Regions from separate parts of the Homo sapiens genome. Here regions 1, 2, 3, 5 and 6 are each linked to region 4. The links are contacts of gene promoters, found by promoter capture Hi-C in blood cells and fetal thymus (Javierre and others, 2016). All regions are on one chromosome and are shown on one strand. Each heading gives the region's core, a stretch centred on a gene start or on the middle of the fragment in contact. The rest is flanking DNA. Distances are from core to core; before and after follow the strand shown. Region 1 overlaps LOC105378808 (a long non-coding RNA gene). Region 2 overlaps PIGK (phosphatidylinositol glycan anchor biosynthesis class K). Region 3 overlaps AK5 (adenylate kinase 5). Region 4 holds the start of ST6GALNAC3 (ST6 N-acetylgalactosaminide alpha-2,6-sialyltransferase 3). Region 5 overlaps PIGK (phosphatidylinositol glycan anchor biosynthesis class K). Region 6 overlaps PIGK (phosphatidylinositol glycan anchor biosynthesis class K).

What was found. The method cuts DNA at HindIII sites, captures the fragments that hold promoters and counts their contacts. A CHiCAGO score of 5 or more calls a contact.
Region 1: a contact is called between a fragment that was not itself captured here and the fragment with the promoter of ST6GALNAC3 in region 4, in 3 of 17 cell types (fetal thymus, monocytes and M1 macrophages). The highest score is 10.5, in fetal thymus.
Region 2: a fragment that was not itself captured here is called in contact with the fragment with the promoter of ST6GALNAC3 in region 4 in 2 of 17 cell types (fetal thymus and monocytes); the score reaches 7.6 in fetal thymus.
Region 3: a contact is called between a fragment that was not itself captured here and the fragment with the promoter of ST6GALNAC3 in region 4, in 1 of 17 cell types (M0 macrophages). The highest score is 7.7, in M0 macrophages.
Region 5: a contact is called between a fragment that was not itself captured here and the fragment with the promoter of ST6GALNAC3 in region 4, in 11 of 17 cell types (monocytes, total CD4 T cells, megakaryocytes and 8 more). The highest score is 12.9, in monocytes.
Region 6: a contact is called between a fragment that was not itself captured here and the fragment with the promoter of ST6GALNAC3 in region 4, in 4 of 17 cell types (M2 macrophages, M0 macrophages, naive CD4 T cells and 1 more). The highest score is 9.8, in M2 macrophages.

The regions. Positions count from the first base shown.
Region 1 is chr1:77,220,933-77,224,246 of GRCh38, reverse strand. It overlaps LOC105378808 (a long non-coding RNA gene), which reads right to left. Exons shown (of 3, transcript XR_001738109.2): 2 at 3,254-3,314. Among named protein-coding and RNA genes, the nearest start is that of PIGK, 3.2 kb to the right of the region's middle. The HindIII fragment of the contact is 4,293 bases long and covers 1-3,314 here.
Region 2 is chr1:77,204,680-77,207,597 of GRCh38, reverse strand. PIGK (phosphatidylinositol glycan anchor biosynthesis class K) reads left to right here. Exons shown (of 11, transcript NM_005482.3): 3 at 867-958. Among named protein-coding and RNA genes, the nearest start is that of PIGK, 13 kb to the left of the region's middle. The HindIII fragment of the contact is 1,009 bases long and covers 980-1,988 here.
Region 3 is chr1:77,526,283-77,529,601 of GRCh38, reverse strand. All of the region lies in intron 12 of AK5 (adenylate kinase 5), which reads right to left. Among named protein-coding and RNA genes, the nearest start is that of ZZZ3, 150 kb to the left of the region's middle. The HindIII fragment of the contact is 2,907 bases long and covers 438-3,319 here.
Region 4 is chr1:76,072,978-76,076,165 of GRCh38, reverse strand. It overlaps ST6GALNAC3 (ST6 N-acetylgalactosaminide alpha-2,6-sialyltransferase 3), which reads right to left and starts at 1,420. Exons shown (of 5, transcript NM_152996.4): 1 at 1,282-1,420. The coding sequence starts at 1,299. RefSeq lists a silencer at 1,420-1,619. The HindIII fragment of the contact is 5,160 bases long and covers 1-2,046 here.
Region 5 is chr1:77,139,310-77,142,217 of GRCh38, reverse strand. The region is part of intron 9 of PIGK (phosphatidylinositol glycan anchor biosynthesis class K); the gene reads left to right. Among named protein-coding and RNA genes, the nearest start is that of PIGK, 79 kb to the left of the region's middle. The HindIII fragment of the contact is 434 bases long and covers 1,351-1,784 here.
Region 6 is chr1:77,118,933-77,122,223 of GRCh38, reverse strand. The region is part of intron 10 of PIGK (phosphatidylinositol glycan anchor biosynthesis class K); the gene reads left to right. Among named protein-coding and RNA genes, the nearest start is that of MIR7156, 60 kb to the right of the region's middle. The HindIII fragment of the contact is 1,580 bases long and covers 496-2,075 here.

The sequences.
Region 1 (3,314 bases), core at 493-2,992, 1.1 Mb before region 4:
TAAGGGGGACTCCTGTACCAAAATATATTCCAGATAGTTAAACGTAAAATTAACACAAAATAAAACTAGTAAAAAATAAATATTAGAAATGTGCCACCCGCAGATGTTTGCATCGCTAGTTCTTTCTTGTCATTCAGGTCTCAGATTTCACACCACCTTTGCAGAGAGGTTTTCACTGACCACCTCACTGAAGTAGTGTCTCCCTCTCCCTTCAGTTTCTGTCATCTTACCTTATTTGTATCACCATGAGAATTTATTGTATTCATTTTTCTTTTTTCTTATTGTCTGTTTTCCTTACTGGAATGTAAGGTTCGTGAGAGCAAGAACCTCCTATGTATTTCCAGCTACAATATCCTGGTATGTTATGTCAACTAAAGAAAAAAAAACAGGCTTTTAAATAATTAAAGTTAATTTTATTCAGAAGTCCTACTGAGTACTGCAACCTGGGAGAATCTTTCAAAGAGTTTGTTATATTGCTGCAAAGCATTGATTCACCCCATAGCTTAAACATAGGTGGTGGTTGCTCTGCATGTGTTAAGAAGTTACATCAAATGTGCTCAGAAATTACATTAATGACATGGTTTGGCTGTGTCCCCACTCAAATCTCATCTTGAATTGTAGCTCCCATAATCCCCATGTGTCAATGGTAGGACCCGGTGGGAAGTAATTTAATCATGGGGGCAAGTTTTTCCCCTGCTGGTCTCATGATAGTGAATAAATCTCAGGAAATCTGATGGTTTCATAAAGGGCAGTTCCTCCGCACATGCTCTCTCTCTTGCCTTGCTGCCAGGTAAGATGTGTCTTTGCTCCTCCTTTGCCTTCTGTCACGATTGTGAGGCCTCCCCAGCCATGTGGAACTGTGAGTCCACTGAACCTCTTTTTCTTTATAAATTACCCAGTCTTGGCTATTTCTTCACAGTAGTATGAAAATGGACTAATACAGTAAATTGGAACTGAGGTAGTGGGGCTCTGCTATAAGGTTAACAGAAAATGTTGAAGCAACTTTGGAACAGGGTAACAGGCAGAGGTTGGAACAGTTTGGAGGGCTCAGAAGAAGACAGGAAAATGTGGGAAACTCTGGAACTTCCTAGAGACTTGGAGGGCTCAGAAGACAGAAAGATGTAGGAAAGTTTGGAACTTCCTAGAGACTTGTTGAATGGCTTTGATCAGAAGGCTAATAGGGATACGGACAAAGAAGTCCAGGCTGAGGTGGTCTCAGATGGAGATGAGGAACTTGTTGGGAAATGGAATAAAGGTCACTCTTGCTATGCTTTAGCAAAGAGACTGGTGGCATTTTGCCCCTGCCCTAGTTATCTGTGGAACTTTGAACTTTAGAGAGATGATTTAGGGTACCTGAGGGAAGAAATTTCTAAGTGGCAAAGCGTTCAAGAGGAAGCAGAGCATAAAAGGAAAACTTGCAGCCTGATGACGTGATAGAAAAGAAAAACCCATTTTTTGCGGAGAAATTCAAGCCTGCTGCAGAAATTTGCATAAGTAACAAGAAGCCACATGTTAATTACCACGACAATGGGAAAAATGTCTCCAGGGCATGTAAGAGGTCTTCCTGGAAGTCCCTCTCATCACAAGCCAGGAGGCCAAGGAGGAAAAATGGGTTTATGGGCTGGGCCCAGGGCCTTGCTGCTTTGTGCAGTCTCAGGCTGCTCACATGTGATATTGGGACTGTGGGTGCACGGAAGTCAAGAATTGAGGTTTGGGAACCCTGCCTAGATTTCAGAGGATGTATGGAAACACCCGGATGTTCAGGCAGAGGTGTGCTGCAGGGGCAGGGCCCTCATGCACGACCTCTGCTAAGGCAGAAGGGCAATGCAGAAGGGAAATGTGGGGTGGGATCCCCCACACAGAGTCCCCACTGGGGCAGTGCCTAGTGGAGCTGTGAGAAGAGGGCCACCATCCTCCAGACCCCAGGATGGTAGATCCACCAACAGCTTGCAGCATATGCCTGGGAAAGCCAGAGACACTCAATGCCAGCCTGTTAAAGCAGCTGGGAAGGAGGCTGTATCTTGCAAAGCCACAGGGGCAGAGCTGCCCAAGACCATGGCAACCTACCTCTTGTATCAACGTGAACTGGATGTGAGACACGGAGTCAAAGCAGATCATTTTGGAGCTTTAAGATTTGACTGCCCTGCTGGATTTTGGACTTGCATGGGCCCTGTAGTCCCTTCATTTTGGCCTATTTCTCCCATTTGGAATGGGTGTATTTACCCAATGCTTGTACCCCCATTGTATTTAGGAAGTAACTTAACTTGCTTATGATTTTACAAGCTCATAGGCAGAAGGGACTTGCCTTGTCTCAGATGAGACTTTGGACTGTAGACTTTTGAGTTAATGCTGAAATGAGTTAAGACTTTGGGGGACTGCTGGTAAGGCATGATTGCTTTTGAAATGTGAGGACAGGAGATTTTGGAGGGGCCAGGGTGGAATGATATGGTTTGGCTGTGTCCCAACCCAAATCTCATCTTGAATTGTAGCTCCCATAATCCCCAAGTGTCAAGGGAGGGACCTGATGGGAAGTAATTTAATTATGGGATCAGTTACCCTCATGTTGTCATGGTAGTGAGTTCTCACGAGCTCTGATGGTTTTATTTATCTATCTATTTATTTATTTTTATTTTATTTCATTTTATTTTTTGAGACAAAGTCTGGCTCTGTTGCCCAGGCTGGAGTACAGTAGCGTGATCTTGGCTCACTGCAACCTCTGCCTCCCAGGTTCAAGCGATTCTCCTGCCTCAGCCTCCCTAGTAGCTGGTATTACAGGCATGTGCCCCCACACTGAGCTAATTTTGAAACATGGGGTTTTGCCATGTTGGCCAGGCTGGTCTTGAATGCCTGACCTCAGATGATCTGCCTGCCTCGGCCTCCCAAAGTGCTAGGATTACAGGTGTGAGCCACTGCACCTGGCCTCTGATGGTTTTATAAAGGGTAGTTCCTCTGCACATGCTCTCTCACCTGCTGCCATGTAAGATGTGCCTTTGCTCCTTCTTCATCTTCTACCATGATTGTGAGGCTTCCCCAGCCATGTGGAACTGTGAGTCCACTAAGCCTTTTTCTTTAGAAATTATGCAGTCTTGGGTATTTCTTCATAGCAGTATGAAAATGGGTTAATACAAGTAAAGTCTCATCAAAGTGTGGGTATGAAGTTACATCTGGTCATGAATTTGAGGCATAATCATTAATCTTGTCAGACATTATCTTATGTACAGGAAGAGGCAAGGGCTAGGATCACCAAACTTACCTTTTGTAAAAATTCAGTGATTCAGGCAAGAGATGTGCAAACCTATTCCCTATCCTGCTTA
Region 2 (2,918 bases), core at 235-2,734, 1.1 Mb before region 4:
TTTTTAAACTATAAAACTTGGTTGGATTGTTTCTAATTTTCTCTTGAGTTCAATAGCTTCTTTATAATGCACTCTCTTATGTACATTTACAACTGTTTTATATGTTATGTTTTATCCTGTGTCCTACGTTTCTCACAATAAAGGAAGCAATGTGGAATGAAACAAATATTGTATAACCCTATGTAGCTAATTTTCTTCTCTATTCTGTGAAGAAATTATGGGCATTGTCTTTGATTCTAAAGAATTTAATTTTTTAGAAATAGGAATGTTACTGAGTCACAGAAATTGTGATAACTAAGTTGGTTCAGTATTTGATTTAATTTCCCAAAGATATGCTTTCTCTTAAGCTGAATGGTTTTTTAAAATCTAATACTAGTTATGAAAGACTTCTCTTTGGAGCGATTAGTTTTACTGACAATTCTTTTTTTGTTGAGACAGAGTCTTGCTCTGTCGACAAGGCTGGAGTGCAGTGGTGCCATCTCCACTCCCTGCAACCTCCACCTCCCAGGTTTAAGCGATTCTCATGCCTCAGCCTCCCAAGTAGCTGCAACTACAGGTGCACGCCACCACACCTGGGTAATTTTTGTATTTTTAGTAGAGGTGGGGTTTTGCCATGTTGGCCAGGCTGGTCTCGAACTCCTGGACCCAAGTGATCTTCCCGCCTGGGCTTCCCAAAGTGTTGGTATTACAGGCATGAGCCACTGTGCCTGGCCTTTACTGACAATTTTTTGTGTTTGCTGTTTTAAAGCCTGAATTATGGCATACTGTTTCTTAGAGATCTCTGTATCCTACTTAAAGAAAAATACTCTGCAGCTCCATGGTTAGCCTTGATGCATAAAAATTCTGTTTTTGTTTTAATACTTCAGGTGTGTACATCCCGATTCTGGTTTAATTATCGACATGTTGCAAATACCCTTTCTGTTTATAGAAGTGTCAAGAGGCTAGGTATTCCTGACAGGTAAGAAGCCTTAATAAAGCTTAACCTTGAACTTCAGTGAAAATAACCCTTAGATAATTGTTATTATATTTGTATTTTGTGTTACTTTTGAAAAAGGTAAAAAAAAAAATCTGATTTGAAGATTTTTTGTTCTCATTAGAGCATACTACCATGTATAAATTAGATGTTACTTAAGACCATAATGACAAATTATATAAAAGAACAAATGCTAAGGTAAAAAGATTGGATAAAATATAATTATTTAGTGTAATGTATTTAATTAGTAAATGGCTCAGTCAGGGTTTTTAATTGCAGATAATGGAGTGCAATTCTGATTGATTCAAGTGGAAAAGGGATTTATTGAAAGCATATTGATTACCTTGCCAAATTAGTGAGAAGGTTGTATCCTTTAATAGCCAGGAACAAGGAAGCCTAGATATTAGAAGAGACATAGCAAAAAAATGACCTAAAACAGTCTGGTGACAATAATGGAGCTGCAAATTGCTGAAGCCTAGACTCAGCTACTGCATAGCTGCTACTGTTTGTTTCCTTTTGAAACTTAATGTTGCTATTGCCTCCTGCTGCCAAAATTTGAACTTTGCTGTCCCAACTTCTTACTGTCTCTCTTATAGAGGTCTTGGTGGGAATGTTATATTGGTAAAGTCTAGGTTCAGCACCCATGTCTGTGCTGCAGGGTGACTGGAAGAGCTAGTATATGGCATTATTAGCCTCTATATAGGAAGGTGGGCTTTGCTTTATATGAAGACTCGTAAAGTGGGAATTTTCCTACTTGTAGGGAGTGAGTTTAGGTAATAGGCGGTATCCCCACACCTTCACTCAGAGCATGTCTTCTACATTGTTTTGTCCATGATAGATTTGTTTTTCCTACTACCAAAGCAGCTATAGCAAGAAACTGTAGTCAATTCAGTTATTTAGGTTTGATTTATTTAGTACCAGTGAGTCAGTGTGGAAAGAGCCTTGTAGTTAGATATGACTTTGAAATCTGGCTTTAATGGTGATTTTTCTTTAAGTCACTTTACCATAATAAGCTTGTTTCTCATTTGTTACATGGTAATAATAGTACCTTCTTTCAGGATTCAAGTACTTCCAGTAAAAACAAATAAGAGTTATGCATAAAGTGCTGCAGGAACAGAAAGGAAGCAGTGAATGACTGAGGAAACAAAGTTATATTACAGTCTTTGTGAATAGATCATTTCAGTCTGAGTAACTGACAAAACTATAATTTCCATATTTCATCTGGAAATCATGGCAACTAGATAATATTACTATTTTAAAATTACATTAAGTCTGAGAAGGAGGTTGATTTGTTATATCAAGTGTATAGATATAATTCTTGTCATTTGTCAATTGGTTTTTCTCAAATAGGCCTATGTAGTTAGCTTTTGGTCTTTAACGGCTCTTGCGTCTATACTGGATATACTCTTCTAGAGAATCACTATGCATGGCTTGGCAATAGTTTTTCTTTGGTAAATTAATCTTTCTTCTATGAGTCAATCATTAAGATATATTTAAATGATTTAAGTTAGATTTGGAAGGAGTTTTTAGGAATAGACAATAGCAATAGGATGTATTTTGTATATTATGTTTAGTAGGTTTGTCCTTAGGTTTCTGAAGAATGTTATTTAAAAGCTTATTTCTGTTTCAAATAATTGCTTATCTATAACTGTGTTTATGAAGTCTTTGTAGTGGGGTAATTAAGGATTTAAACAGTTGGTGATTTAAGCCATTTGTTATTTAATAAATAGAAATCAATAGAAAAGATTCTGCTCAGCTAGTATTGGGTAAATAAATAAATGTATGATTTGGAAATATTTTATCAGTTGTGCAAAGCAAACACAGTTTGTATTTTAAAAGTAAAATATTTATATCCCCTAAATTTTGTTAGTCTAGTGTTAGAATATCAGGGGAATCAGCCCCTGATATTTCAACGTAGGTTCTTTTCTATTTTTCCTAAGTGTCG
Region 3 (3,319 bases), core at 642-3,141, 1.5 Mb before region 4:
CCTATAGTCCCTGCACTTTGGGAGGCCGAGGTGGGCAGATCACGAGGTCAGGAGTTCAAGACTAGCCTGACCAACATGGTGAAACCCCATCTCTACTAAAAATATAAAAATTAGCTGGACGTGGTGGTGGGCACCTGTAATCCCCGCTGCTGAGGCAGGAGAATCACTTGAGCCCAGGAGGCGGAGGTTGCAGTGAGCTGAGATCACGCCATTGCACTCCAGCCTGTGGGACAGAGCAAGACTCCGTCTCAAAAAAAAAAAAAAAAACCTATAAAACGGGGGTCCTAACACCTGTTAAGTAGGACTGTAAAAATTAATCAAATGAAATGTGTAAAGCATCAAGTTCAGTTTCTGGCGCATTGTAAGTACTCAAAAAATAATTACTATTCCTATGTTCTGTATGATTTTAACTAAGCAAAAACAGGCAGAACAAAGCTTGGGGAGAACATACATTAAATATTAATAGGTATTATCACTGGGTGGTTAGTTATTCTTTGTTTTATATTTTTGTGTATTGTTTCATACTATATAATTTTTATTTCTATAGTCAGAAAAAATACACATTATTAAAAAAACTGTAAAGACTTATTGAACACCATATGTAGGCTTATAAGTGTGTAAAGGCACTTGTCAAGGATCCCATCCAATCTTCCCAACAATCACTGAGGTATGTATTTCCAACCAACATTTTGTAGAAGAGGAGAAGGAGATCTACAAAGTTAGCTGACTTGCTTACCAGCCAATGAATTACAAAGCCAGGCTCCAAATACAGGCCTGTTCACACCAGAGTCACTATAACCAGGGGTTCTCAGCTGGAGTGGGGAATGAGGATGGTGATCAGAAACCCTGACTCCTCCCTCATATTCCTTCTGCCTCATTACACACATCTACATGCATACATGCATTACATACATGTACATATACACAGCCCCTCCCCCAGTAATCATTCTGTAAACTGAAGGTATAGGTTGTAATTCAACAGGGATAAAACCAGCTTGGGGAATAGAAGATAGGAAGGTAACAGAAACCACACATAGACTTACCCTTAAGCTGTGGACATTAGTTTGCATTTGATTTTTAGCGATGTCATATGCAGTGTCCAAGGAAATCCTCAAAGGACCTTGTATCTCGGAGAACTCAGCTACAGGTATGCAAAAGTGTCAGCCTAACTAACTGAATTTTTAAAGGAACTGATGGTCCAATGCATCGGACGCATCAATCTCGGTGACACAGAAAGGCTGGTGAGATTTTTGTGGGCTGGTTAAAACCTCTCCAGGCTTGAATGGACCTCAAACATAGTTGCAGGCCTGATGCACTAGGGGAAATACTATGCTTTCAACCAAGCTGATTACTTTGAATCTCTGGGGAAAATCAGATGTCTGCATTTGTCTTTGTCAAATTTCAAATGAATTTCTTGCTTGTAATTTGGAGGGGAGCTACAAATGAAGGGCCCTGCAGGGCATTAAGGAGTCAACAGTAGCTCATTCTGTGTTTGTAGCATCTTTGTTCATCTGGTCAGGTTTTATTATTATTATTATTATTTGAGATGGAGTTTCACTCTGTTGCCCAGGCTGGAATGCAGTGGTGCGATCTTGGCTCACTGCAACCTCTGCCTCCTGGGTTCAAGCGATTCTCCTGCCTCAGCCTCCCAAGTAGCTGGGATTACAGGCATGTGCCACCACGTCCCGCTAATTTTGTATTTTTAGTAGAGACGGGGTTTCGCCATGTTAGTCTGGCTTGTCTCAAACTCCTGACCTCAGGTGATCTGCCCGCCTCGGCCTCCCAAAGTGCTGGGATTACAGGCGTGAGCCACCGTGCCCGGCCATCTGGTCAGGTTTAAAGCAGGAGCTCATTCTGGAGGGCTGGATGTGTTCTCTTGCACACCTGCTTAATTGATACTAGAATCTTCTAAAGTTACTGTACCCAGGGACAAATCAATGTCACTCTTGGTCTCTGTAAGTTCCTCCTAGCAGTATGTAAGAAATCATCTTTGTAGATGTCTAAAATCTCACTTAACGGTTGTATGCTCAGTAATGAAATGTGTTACCTGTGTGTTGTTTGAAATGGAATCATGAATTTTAGCATTGAGTGTAACTGTCCAGTCACCATGTTGATGACTTTCTTGTTCCTTAGTTCTAGTTAGGCTTCTTCTCTGCCACATTCTAAAACCGGTCTGAACGGGGACCACAGTGGGAGAGGAAGTTTTTTGCTTTACTTTAGGGAAGATCACATGGACCATTTGAATTCATACTTACGCCAGAGGACAGACCAATGGGCTGCATAGAGCTCTGAGCTCACCCTAACTGGGTTTTAAGCAAAGGAGGAAGTGGTGATGGAGCAGGAATTTTAGAGGCTTGTATGAGGTGTGATTAACAAATGAGTGATGCTAAACTAGATAATATTTTATAAACTTTTATAGCTTAGAAGACATTTATGCATGTTATATGATCTGATGTTTACAAAACCTTTTAAATAGGTGTTAACAGGTATTATTATCTCCATAATAAATGACAGGTGAAAACCTAGATTTTCTGACTCCAGAGTACACGAGTGACATGCTTTTAATGATTCCACCTTGGGAAGGTCCAGGGTTGTCATTGCTCAAAATGATGTGGAACCCCATAGGCGTTAAGTTCTGGGGTTTGCCTTCAGACTCAATTTTAAAATTCCCCAAAGAAGAATAAGGATTATAATTTAATTTTGTTGTTGTTGACCGAGAGAGAGAGAGAGACCTTATTTATTTACTATACATCTTGTCCTCGATCATTTGAGGGTTTCAAGAGAATGTTCTACCACCTCTCAGAGCAATTAAAAAAAAAAAAAGACTTGGCCAGGCGAGGTGGCTCAAGCCTGTAATCCCAGCACTTTGGGAGGCTGAGAGGGCAGATCACGAGGTCAGGAGATCAAGACCATCCTGGCTAACACGGTGAAACCCCATCTCTACTAAAAATACAAAAAATTAGCCAGGTGTGGTGGCGGGCGCCTGTAGTCCCAGCTACTTGGGAGGCTGAGGCAGGAGAATGGCGTGAACCCGGGAGGCAGAGCTTGCAGTGAGCCAAGATCGCACCACGGCACTCCAGCCTGGGCGACAGAGCGAGACTCCGTCTCAAAAAAAAAAAAAAAAAAAAAAAAAAAAGACTTTTATTCCCATCGCTTCCAAACATGCGCAGGACCTGTCCTGACTTTCCTGGAGGGTCTCTCAGAGCTCTTCTAACCTTAAGTTCAAGGGCAAGGTAAGTGGGAAAAGCCTGAAACACTGTTGACCCTGCAGCAGTTATTACACATCTACAATTGTATGTTAGTGTCATGTTTACACAAC
Region 4 (3,188 bases), core at 171-2,670:
CTTGTGCTAAGAGCCTCCCGGTCAAATACCCCATACTGTAATACTGATGTATTATTTCCTCATGTCCTGGAAAATGTTCTGAAACAAAAAGAGGAAGTTCAGAAAGCTCACAGGAAACTTCTGATCTCCTTTACGCAAAGAAGGGGAAACAACTTCTACGAGGTTAGTCTCTTATTTTCATCATTGACACCAGGCACGTTAGAAGACGATTCAGGTAACCAGAACACAGTAGATGACTTAATATCATCTTATAGAGAAATAAATGCTACTTCACAATAACACAACAACAACGAATTGTTTCCTGGTATTTTCCATCGTCACACAGTTCCCCCAGGCTTGGACAACTAGGTCTCTGCATTCTCCAGTCAAGGCCCAGGAAACTTTCATGCTGTTCATGTTTTTGATTCATGCATCCAGGTTATGTTCTTGTAGAAAGGTAGTGCAAAAAAAAAAACGAGGGCAGGGGAGGCCTCTACCAGTGGGATGGAAAGTTCTTTTTAAGTGAGGCCCTCACACCAAGTTCTCCCACCTGAGGCCACAAGTCTGTGAACCCAGAAAGATGCTCAGGTGAGGCTAAGAATCCGGTCTTGGAGAAAGAAAACTCAACAAAGAAGGGATGGCTGAGCGCACTCTGGCAGAGCATAAAATCATTTTGTCTATTCAAATTTATGAGCATAAAGAGAGTGAGAGGTTCTCTACTAACATATACATCCTCGTGTGAACTTTTCCAAAGTAGAGCTAAGGGCAAACAGAGCTAGCAGATCTCATAGAAAACTCATTCCTAAGGGACTACCTGTAAACTCAGAAGTTTCTGTCTTCACATGATCAAATGCACAGTAGAGCCCACCTCCGCTCACTCTTCCCTCCATTTAAAGCGCTATGCCCCTCACCACCAGCAACTCACGCCTAGCCACTCCACCCCTCCCCGTGGCCCCTGAAAGGCCTCAGGCTCCACAGAGCCGCGGGACCCGCGGGAACACCCCTCCTCTCCCTACCATCCCCATTATTCGGCACACAGCCCTGCTCTCCCCTGGAGCCAACAGTCTGCAGCTCCTTCAATGCAGGCGCGAGCAGGAGGCAGGAATGGTGGGAAAAGAAGCTGTGCCAGCTGCATGTTTCAGAATCTCCCTCCATATGCATTTGCCAAAGGAACAAAAAGAAAATCAATGCCAGGAAAAGACAACTGAGATGAGGATGCGGTGGGACCGCGGCTGACTCCGTGCCTCTGAGCAGCAAGGGGCTGGCCAACCACGCGTCCGAGCCACAGATCCAAGTCGTTACCTTCAGGATGCAGGCCATGGCGCTCCGCCGGCCCTCCTGCCACCGAGCAGCGGGCGCGCCTGGGTCAGGGGCAGTCCTGGGGGCAGGCTGGAGGCTGGTACCACGGCAGGACCTCTCCAGCCCACATTCCCGCAGATCCAAATAAGGGGACCGCGGTGTAAGCTGCGCCGCCACAGACCCCGCCCCCCGAGCCGCGGCCCCGCCCCCGTCCCCATCCACTGGCCCGCGGCCCGCGCGGCCCCGCCCCCGGGTCACGTGCCGTCCTGGGCGCCGGCGCCGGCGGCTCCTCAGTGCCTGCTACTTCTTTCTCTTGTTTTCTTCTGTGAACCTTTCGCGGCTCGACGTGCGCAGAGTGCGCTCTGCAGCAGGCGGGGACCTGGGTCCCGCGGGGGGCAGAGTACGGCCTTTTCTTCTCGGTTCCGTCTCCTCTCACACATCAGAGAACTCCTTTTTACAGACGTTTCACACTTTGTCAAAGTTGAGTGGGTTTGGCATCGCCCTTCTGGAGACTTTGGGCACATCAAAGGGCTTTTCAAAAGTAGCAACGAAGTTCTCCCTGGGCTGTTCAAGGATTGAGCCTTCACTCTGTGATGGGCTTATCTAAAATTAATAATTTACCGCTAATAAGTGAGCACAAATATCAACGAAAGAAAGACGTCATGAACCTTACACTCTGTATGGTATATTTTGTGTGTGTGTACATATTTTACATATACATGTATGTGTGTATAATATATAAATTATTGCCTTTTCCTGGTACAAGCTTGTTTATGAAATTGTATATGCATGATATACAGTATACAGATACAGGATGCACACATGTGTATATTGTATTATATATGTACATGTTGATTGTACAGTATATGTTTATAAACTGTGTATGTGTACATGATAGGACTTTGCTCTTCCCTGCTCCAAGCAAGAGCCGGCTAAGAGAAGCAGTTATTTCTACAAGGAGAGTAAACGCATTGCAGAAGGGAGAGAGCATTCCGTGTACACACACAGATTTTTACCACTTGGTCTGTCAGAAAAATTTTAAAAGCGGCCCCCAAATATCTACCCAAAAGAAGTTTCACTTGCTAGAAGCTCCGTCTAGTTTGCCTCCATGGAATCAGGAAAAGCACTGTGGGCTGGTGGTGTCATGAGATTGGCTCACAAACCACAAGGCAGAATCCAGGCTTTCAAGGAATTTGGTATTTTCTTGATGAGAACATGCAGAATTCTTAGAGAGCAGGAGTAACCACAGGAAGGAGGTTGCAGAAGCTGAGCCTGTGGATGAACTGCCTGTCCCATGGGAAGCTCCTGTCTTCAGTCTCCCTGGAATACCACACCCTGCTCTTCGACTTCTTCCTCCCGCCCCTCCCTCCTCTGCCTTACAGATCCGGTGTGTTTTTAGTAAGAATTCTTTGTTTGGGACTATATACTTTAAACCGCTGCTTTAGCTCATGGTCCTTCATAGGCCAGGAAAATTCAGTATTTCATTCATTTACTCATCCCTTGATTGATTCCACAAACTTTTTTATTGAGCCACTACTAAATGGAAGAATAAACTTTATTCACCTTCCACTAAGTGGAGGAAAAATCTTTATTGAAGACCTTTCAGGGATAGGAGAATGACTTTCAGAATATCTAACATCAAGGTGGGCTCACAGTTAAGTGAGAAAGACAAGAATAAGAGATACATGATACTATAACATGGAAAGGGCCTTAGCCAAATTGGAAGCAAAGATCTCAGGAAGGAGAAAGAGAAACACCTGACCGTCCCCCAGCCCGACACCCGTAAAGGGTCTGTGCTGAGGAATATTAGTAAAAAAGGAAGGCCTCTTGCGGTTAAGAGGAAGGCCTCCGTCTCCTGCATGTCCCTGGCAGAACAGCAGAGCAAAGGGGTGAGGGTGGGCAGAGCACAT
Region 5 (2,908 bases), core at 318-2,817, 1.1 Mb before region 4:
CTATAGCCCATTCTGACAGGAATTATTATTAGCCTGACTTTCCCATACTTACCAGTGTAGCTGACTTAAAAAACAAAACAAAACAAAACAAAAAACAACTCAATTTCAGGATTTATGCCTATTTCTTTATGTTTTTATCTTACTAGTGTTAATTCAGTATTATAGCCTATTAGTCTTTTTTAATACTCATTCTGACATTGCCATATTAGTATTGAACTATTTATGGCTTTTATTGTGGGGGAAAAATGGACCTGGTAAATGATACGGATCTGTGATCTTTGCTCATGATATCCTTGATGTTGGATACCAATTTTGGGTCACAGCTGTTAACTTTTATTTGTTAGAAAGCTGATTTCTCAGGGCTTAATCAAAAAAATCAAAATTTAATAATAAAAATTTTTTGAATAATGCCAAAGTGGACCTAAAAAGTCAAAGTAAGGTTATTTTTGTGAGCTTTTATTAAATTAATATAGTAAATATTGTTTAAAGTATGTTTTTCTACAGATGTTATAGATAAATTACTATCAAGTAATTAAAGATTTTCATTTTGAAATTATTTTTCTCATAAAAATAAAGGAAAATCAGGGGACTTACCAACATTGACGAGCTGTATTATGCTCCATCTTTCTCTGCTTTAAATTCATTCATTATATACAAAGTTCTTGTTATACTCAAAGATATTCCAGGCTTGGTACTTTCTTTAATTTGATGAAATTGTGACTTATTATTCTGAAAGTACTTTTACTAAGGGAAGCGTGCAGCTTATATTGTATGGAATGCCTTTTTCAGTTCCTTCATTTTAACTTCAATATTAAGAGCCGTTCTCTGTTCCTTATCTGATGGCATCAGCTTCTAATATTAATATGTTCTAGTATGATTTCCCAAGAAGTAAAGAGCAGACAAAATAATGAAATATAAGAGTTCTTAGGATATGATCTCAGAATACCTATGTCACATGATAACTAAGTGTGCTGGCTGAGAATTATATTGTACTACACTGCAAGTAGTAATGGACTTAGTTTGCTTGGCCTGAACTATATTGCCAGCCAGAGATTCAGAGATACTTGGTAAGCAGTTTAAACTGGGTTTTATTAAAATTAATATATCTAATTTTTATAATGTTTATTTCTTTATAGCAAAGATGTGTATATTTAGAGCATGTATATTGAGAGATGGAGCAAGAAAATAGTATTTTATATTTCTCTTAGGTGATTTAAAGATTGCATGCTTTATAGCAATCTTTGGTACTTTTCCTTTAAGGTACTGAAACAGGTGATAAGGAACTATACAGTGTGACATACAGTTGTAACTACTGTAATTGCTATGCATAAGCAAGGTATTTTAAAAGCTTATATCTAACTAAAGGGAAAGCTCTAACTTATGCTTTAAAAAATAAGTGATATTCACAATGATTTCTCTTTTGCATGTAAAAACACTGATACGTATCTTCTAAATCATAGAAAATGATTAAAATTAATCTTGTATGGTTTTAGTGTCAAATGTAGTGGTTTTTTTTGTTTTGTTTTTCTGCTATTTCTTTGAAAGTTAGATATAGTAAAACCTTGAATATCCAGAAATTAGGTAACTTCTGGTAATAAAAGAGTACATGACGTTCCCATGAGTTAACACTAAATATGAAAAAACCCACTTTTACCTTAGATGTTGTATTAGGTTGTTCTTGCACTGCTATAAAGAAATACCTGAGACTGGGTAATTGGCTTATTGTTCTGCAGTCTGTACAGGAAGCATAGGGGTATCTACTTTTGGGGAGGCGTCAGGAAGCTTCCAATTATGGTAGAGGGCAAATGGGGAACAGGCACATCATATGGTGAGAATAGGAATGAGAACCGGAGCAAGTGTAAGTGAGCGGGGCAGGGGGGTTGGGGGAGAGTAAGAGAGTGAGAGCAAGAGAGAGAGGGAGGGAGGAAGGCAAGGGTTTGGGAGAGAGTGCAAGAGAGAAAGAGTGAGTGAGTGTGAGCATGCACTGGGGAGGTGCCACACACTTTTAAACGACCATATCTTGCGGGAACTCACTCACTATGGTGAAGACAGCACCAAGCCATGAGGGATCTGCCCTCATGACCCAAACACCTTCCATCAGGCACCACCTCCAGCATTGGGGATTACAGTTCAACCTGATATTTGAGCAGGGACAAATATCTAAACTATATCAGATATAAAAATACAGCTTGAATTCAGTAGCCTTTGGCATTCATAGTTTCACATTTCATTAGAAGGAAACATTTCTCAATAAAAGAACACCCTGTAATATTAGAATGAGATACAACATTTCACTTTCTCGGAACAAAAAATTAATGTAAATGAGTTTAGAGGGATGGTTTGAAGTTAATAATAAAGAATAATCAATTGACTTCACTTTTGTAATGTTGCTGACAGGATTTTTCTGAAAATTATTCCGTTACAAGATACCTAGATGCACTATAAATTATATTTTAAAAAGATCTTTTTAAATGCTTAGCTGAGCTGCCAAGAAAGTAAGTGTGTAGAGACAAACAACATTTGATGAATAGCATTGCTGGCTTCTTCCACATTGAAGCAGAGCTGGTGGCACCCCCTCATTCAGTGGTAAGGACTACATGGGTTCTACTTCCTACAGTGTTTCTAGATAGTAACAGCTGGTGTTCTAAACATGCAGCTTCCCTGAGCAGTTGGCAGCAAGCTCAGACTGTCTCCTTTTGCAAGGACAGTATAGATTTACTTTAAAAAGCGGGAGTGTCTATGGGAGCCCTTTCTTGCTTTAGGGCTCTCATGTGATTTAGGGTTGTAATTTCCTCCTTGATCCAACCCATGGTGTTTCCAGCTGCACCTTCATCTAAAGAAACCTTTACAGGGGACTGTGTGACTTATCCTGCTATTGGTCTTTTTATCTAGTAGCAGAAAGTATTCG
Region 6 (3,291 bases), core at 36-2,535, 1.0 Mb before region 4:
GAAGTAATTGCTTTTGTTAGGTTTTTCAGAATCAATGTGCTATAGCTGAAAGGCATTCTGGGCTGTCTATCCCTATTTAGACTACCCCTATTACAGTTGAAAGTCCCATTCAAAGCACAATATTAAAAGGCTACTTGCTGTTTAACACTAGAATTCTTACTTACATAAAATATGGGATAAAATAAGGATTATCTTTTGTGCATTATTTAATTATAAAATTTAATTTCAGAAAACTTTCATTTTGACCCATTGTGTATAGTACTTAGTGACAAGGAAAAAGAGCTGCAAAAATATCATTGAGAGTAATTTTTTGGAGTCACTAAAAAGAGAAAACAATCTTGCCCTGCATCCTTTACCCTGCCCAATCATCAACCCTTGCAAAGTATAATTCTGCATGTCATGTGGGCAATTTGTTCATTTCCAATTATAATGATTTTATCATCCGTTCTACATAACTGTAATCATTGAGAAGGCAGTGTTGTAAGCATGTAAGCTTAGACTTTGTACTATAATTTGACAGCATATAACCTCTGCCCTGCTGTGCCAGAATCTAATAATTTTAAATGTTCTGTTGACTAGAGTTATAGCCTTTAGACCTAGCAGAGATTTCAGAAACTTACATATTATAGTAAATATTTAAAGCCCTTAAATGGCAGAGTTTCTCAGAATTGTTATGAATGTTGATTGTTATTGTGAGTTTTTCCATATGCCTTTTTCCATCAAAATAATTTTTATTTAGCTGATATGTATTGATTAGAAGTGCCAGTTAGAACTTTATTAAAAGAAACAGAGGCTTTTACTTTAAAATGTTGGCTATATATATTTTTCATTGACATTAAAATTTAATATTGCAATTCTGTGAGAAATTACAAAAAATGATCAGAAATTTACACCTTTGGGAAGCTCGTCTGTGCTTGGTAATCAGGTCCAGTTTATATGTCAGGAATTCCCTAGTGTTGTCAGAGCTTAAATGACCTAACAGTCTGCGAATGTCACATTTAAAATTCTGTCTTCATGCCTGACTCTCAGCATAAATGAATTAAACAGCAGAGCAGGCAGCAAGTCAATATGTTCTTAACAGTAAGAGTGAGCGATGAAACAGTTTGTGGTTTGCTCAGAATTGGTAAATAGAATCTGCCCAGAACAGTTCACCTAGAATAAAATCTGAAAGAGGAAACAAGAATTAACCTTTAAGATGGTTGACCAGATGAAATGTCAGTAATATTTTTATAGCATGGATGAACCAATAAACTACCTGGTTTATGTAACAGCTGCATTTGACTGTTATACACTGTGTGAATTCCAAGATAAAAAATTTTTGACCCTGGTGAAAATTTTAGATTGTGATTTTTTTGGCAGTACAAGAGACTTTGTTAATTTTAACACTGAATTACAAACATTATATTAAAATTCAGTAGCACTTGATTTTACTAAATACCTATCTTTAAGAAATTTTACACAATAGGAATTTATGTATTTTATTTTTATTGAATAAAATGAATTCTGTTCTCAGTTAAAGAATAGTCAGGACAGGTCATTGTTAATAGCAGACTCTTCATTTATTCCTTTTGTTATTTCCCTTTTTTGACAGTACTACAACTTAAGGACTGTTACCATTAGCCGGTCCAACTGGTCTTTTAGAAACATAAGAGTTACGTTGCCAGAAATTAACTGATAAGTCCGTTATTTAAAAGCAAATTTTGGCCGGGCACGTGGTATCCCATGCCTATAATCCCAGCCCTTTGGGAGGCTGAGGTGGATGGATCACTTGAGCCCAGGAGTTCAGGACCAGCCCGGGCAACATAACAAAACCCTATGTCTACAAGTAATACAGAAAATTAGCTGGGCTTAGTGGTGCGTGCCTGTAGTCCCACCTACTCGGGAGGCTGAGGTGGGACTATCTCCTGGGCCTGGGATCCAGATTGAGGCTACAGTGAGCTGAGATTGTGGCACTGCACTCCAGTCTGGGTGACAGAGTGAGACCCTGTCTTGATAAATAAATGAATGCATGCAACTTTTTTCCTAAGAGAACAGTAATACATGTGATAATTAGGTTAGCTAGTTTCACAAAAGCTTTTTGATCTATATCTAAATTATAGCATTATTGTAGTGTATAATCTCCCCCTGTAACTATTTTCATGAGAAATAATCTTATACTTTACCTACACCTGTTTAGGAGCTCATGTCATTTCTATTTAAAATAGAGTTACTTATTTTTATGTCTTATATATCCTATTTTATCATCTTTCTGGACAGTCTCAGTTTCTTGATATTTCTTTTAGCATCTTGCTTTGTACTATGTATACATATCTCTAAATGGATAGATAACGTATAGATAAATGGATAGATAACGTATTTTTAATGGTATGTTGAAAGCCAGGACCACCTCTTTTCCCTACTACCCAGGCACCAGAAGCCAAGGACTCTCACTAGTAGCACAACTTAGAAGCTGCAGGAGAGATGGAGGCTTTCAAAGCAGGGACAGAGGCTGAAACAGAAGGAGAAACTTGAGAAACAGAAGAGAGAGGAATGAGCATCAGTCATTTCAGTAATTCATTTATTGTGTGTGATATTTAAACTGCTTTTTACAATCAGGAGATAGGATTCTCACTACTACCATTTTATGCTGTCAAATTATTTACCATTTTTCTAGCCATCCTAGAAAATATGACTGTATACCTAGGAAACCCAGGAGACTCAAGTTATGAACAATAAAATTAATAAGAGAATGTGATGAGATAGCCAAATAAAATTGGCTTCTTAAATAAAATTGATAGCTTCTCTGCATTTGCAGTAAACACACAGAAATGAAAATGGGAAAATTTTTCTGTCACAGCAGTGAAGAGAACTATAAAATAATTACAATTAGATTTAACAAGTAAACCATAGACCTGTATAATAAGAATCATGGAAAGTACTATGTTTCAGAAACAGAAAGACATACCAAATAAACAACATGATGAAAGTATAAGTGTAAATTCTCCCAATTTAGCAATTCTAATTAGAGTAGAAACAAGTTTTTCTTTTTTAATGTTAGGAAAAAATGACCACATGATTTATGTAGAAGACCAAATGTCCAAGAATAACCAAAGAAAGTATGTAAGAGAGGCACTGGTTTTACCGGATATCAGAATATTAGCCTAACGCAGCTGTAATCAGATAAATATTATATGGACAAAGGAATAGACAAGAGGATCAGTGGAACACATGGAGGAGTGAATTTCAAACTTTATGGATTCCAATTCATGATAAGAAATATTTATATGCGTAATAACTTTTGATGTGTAGGGT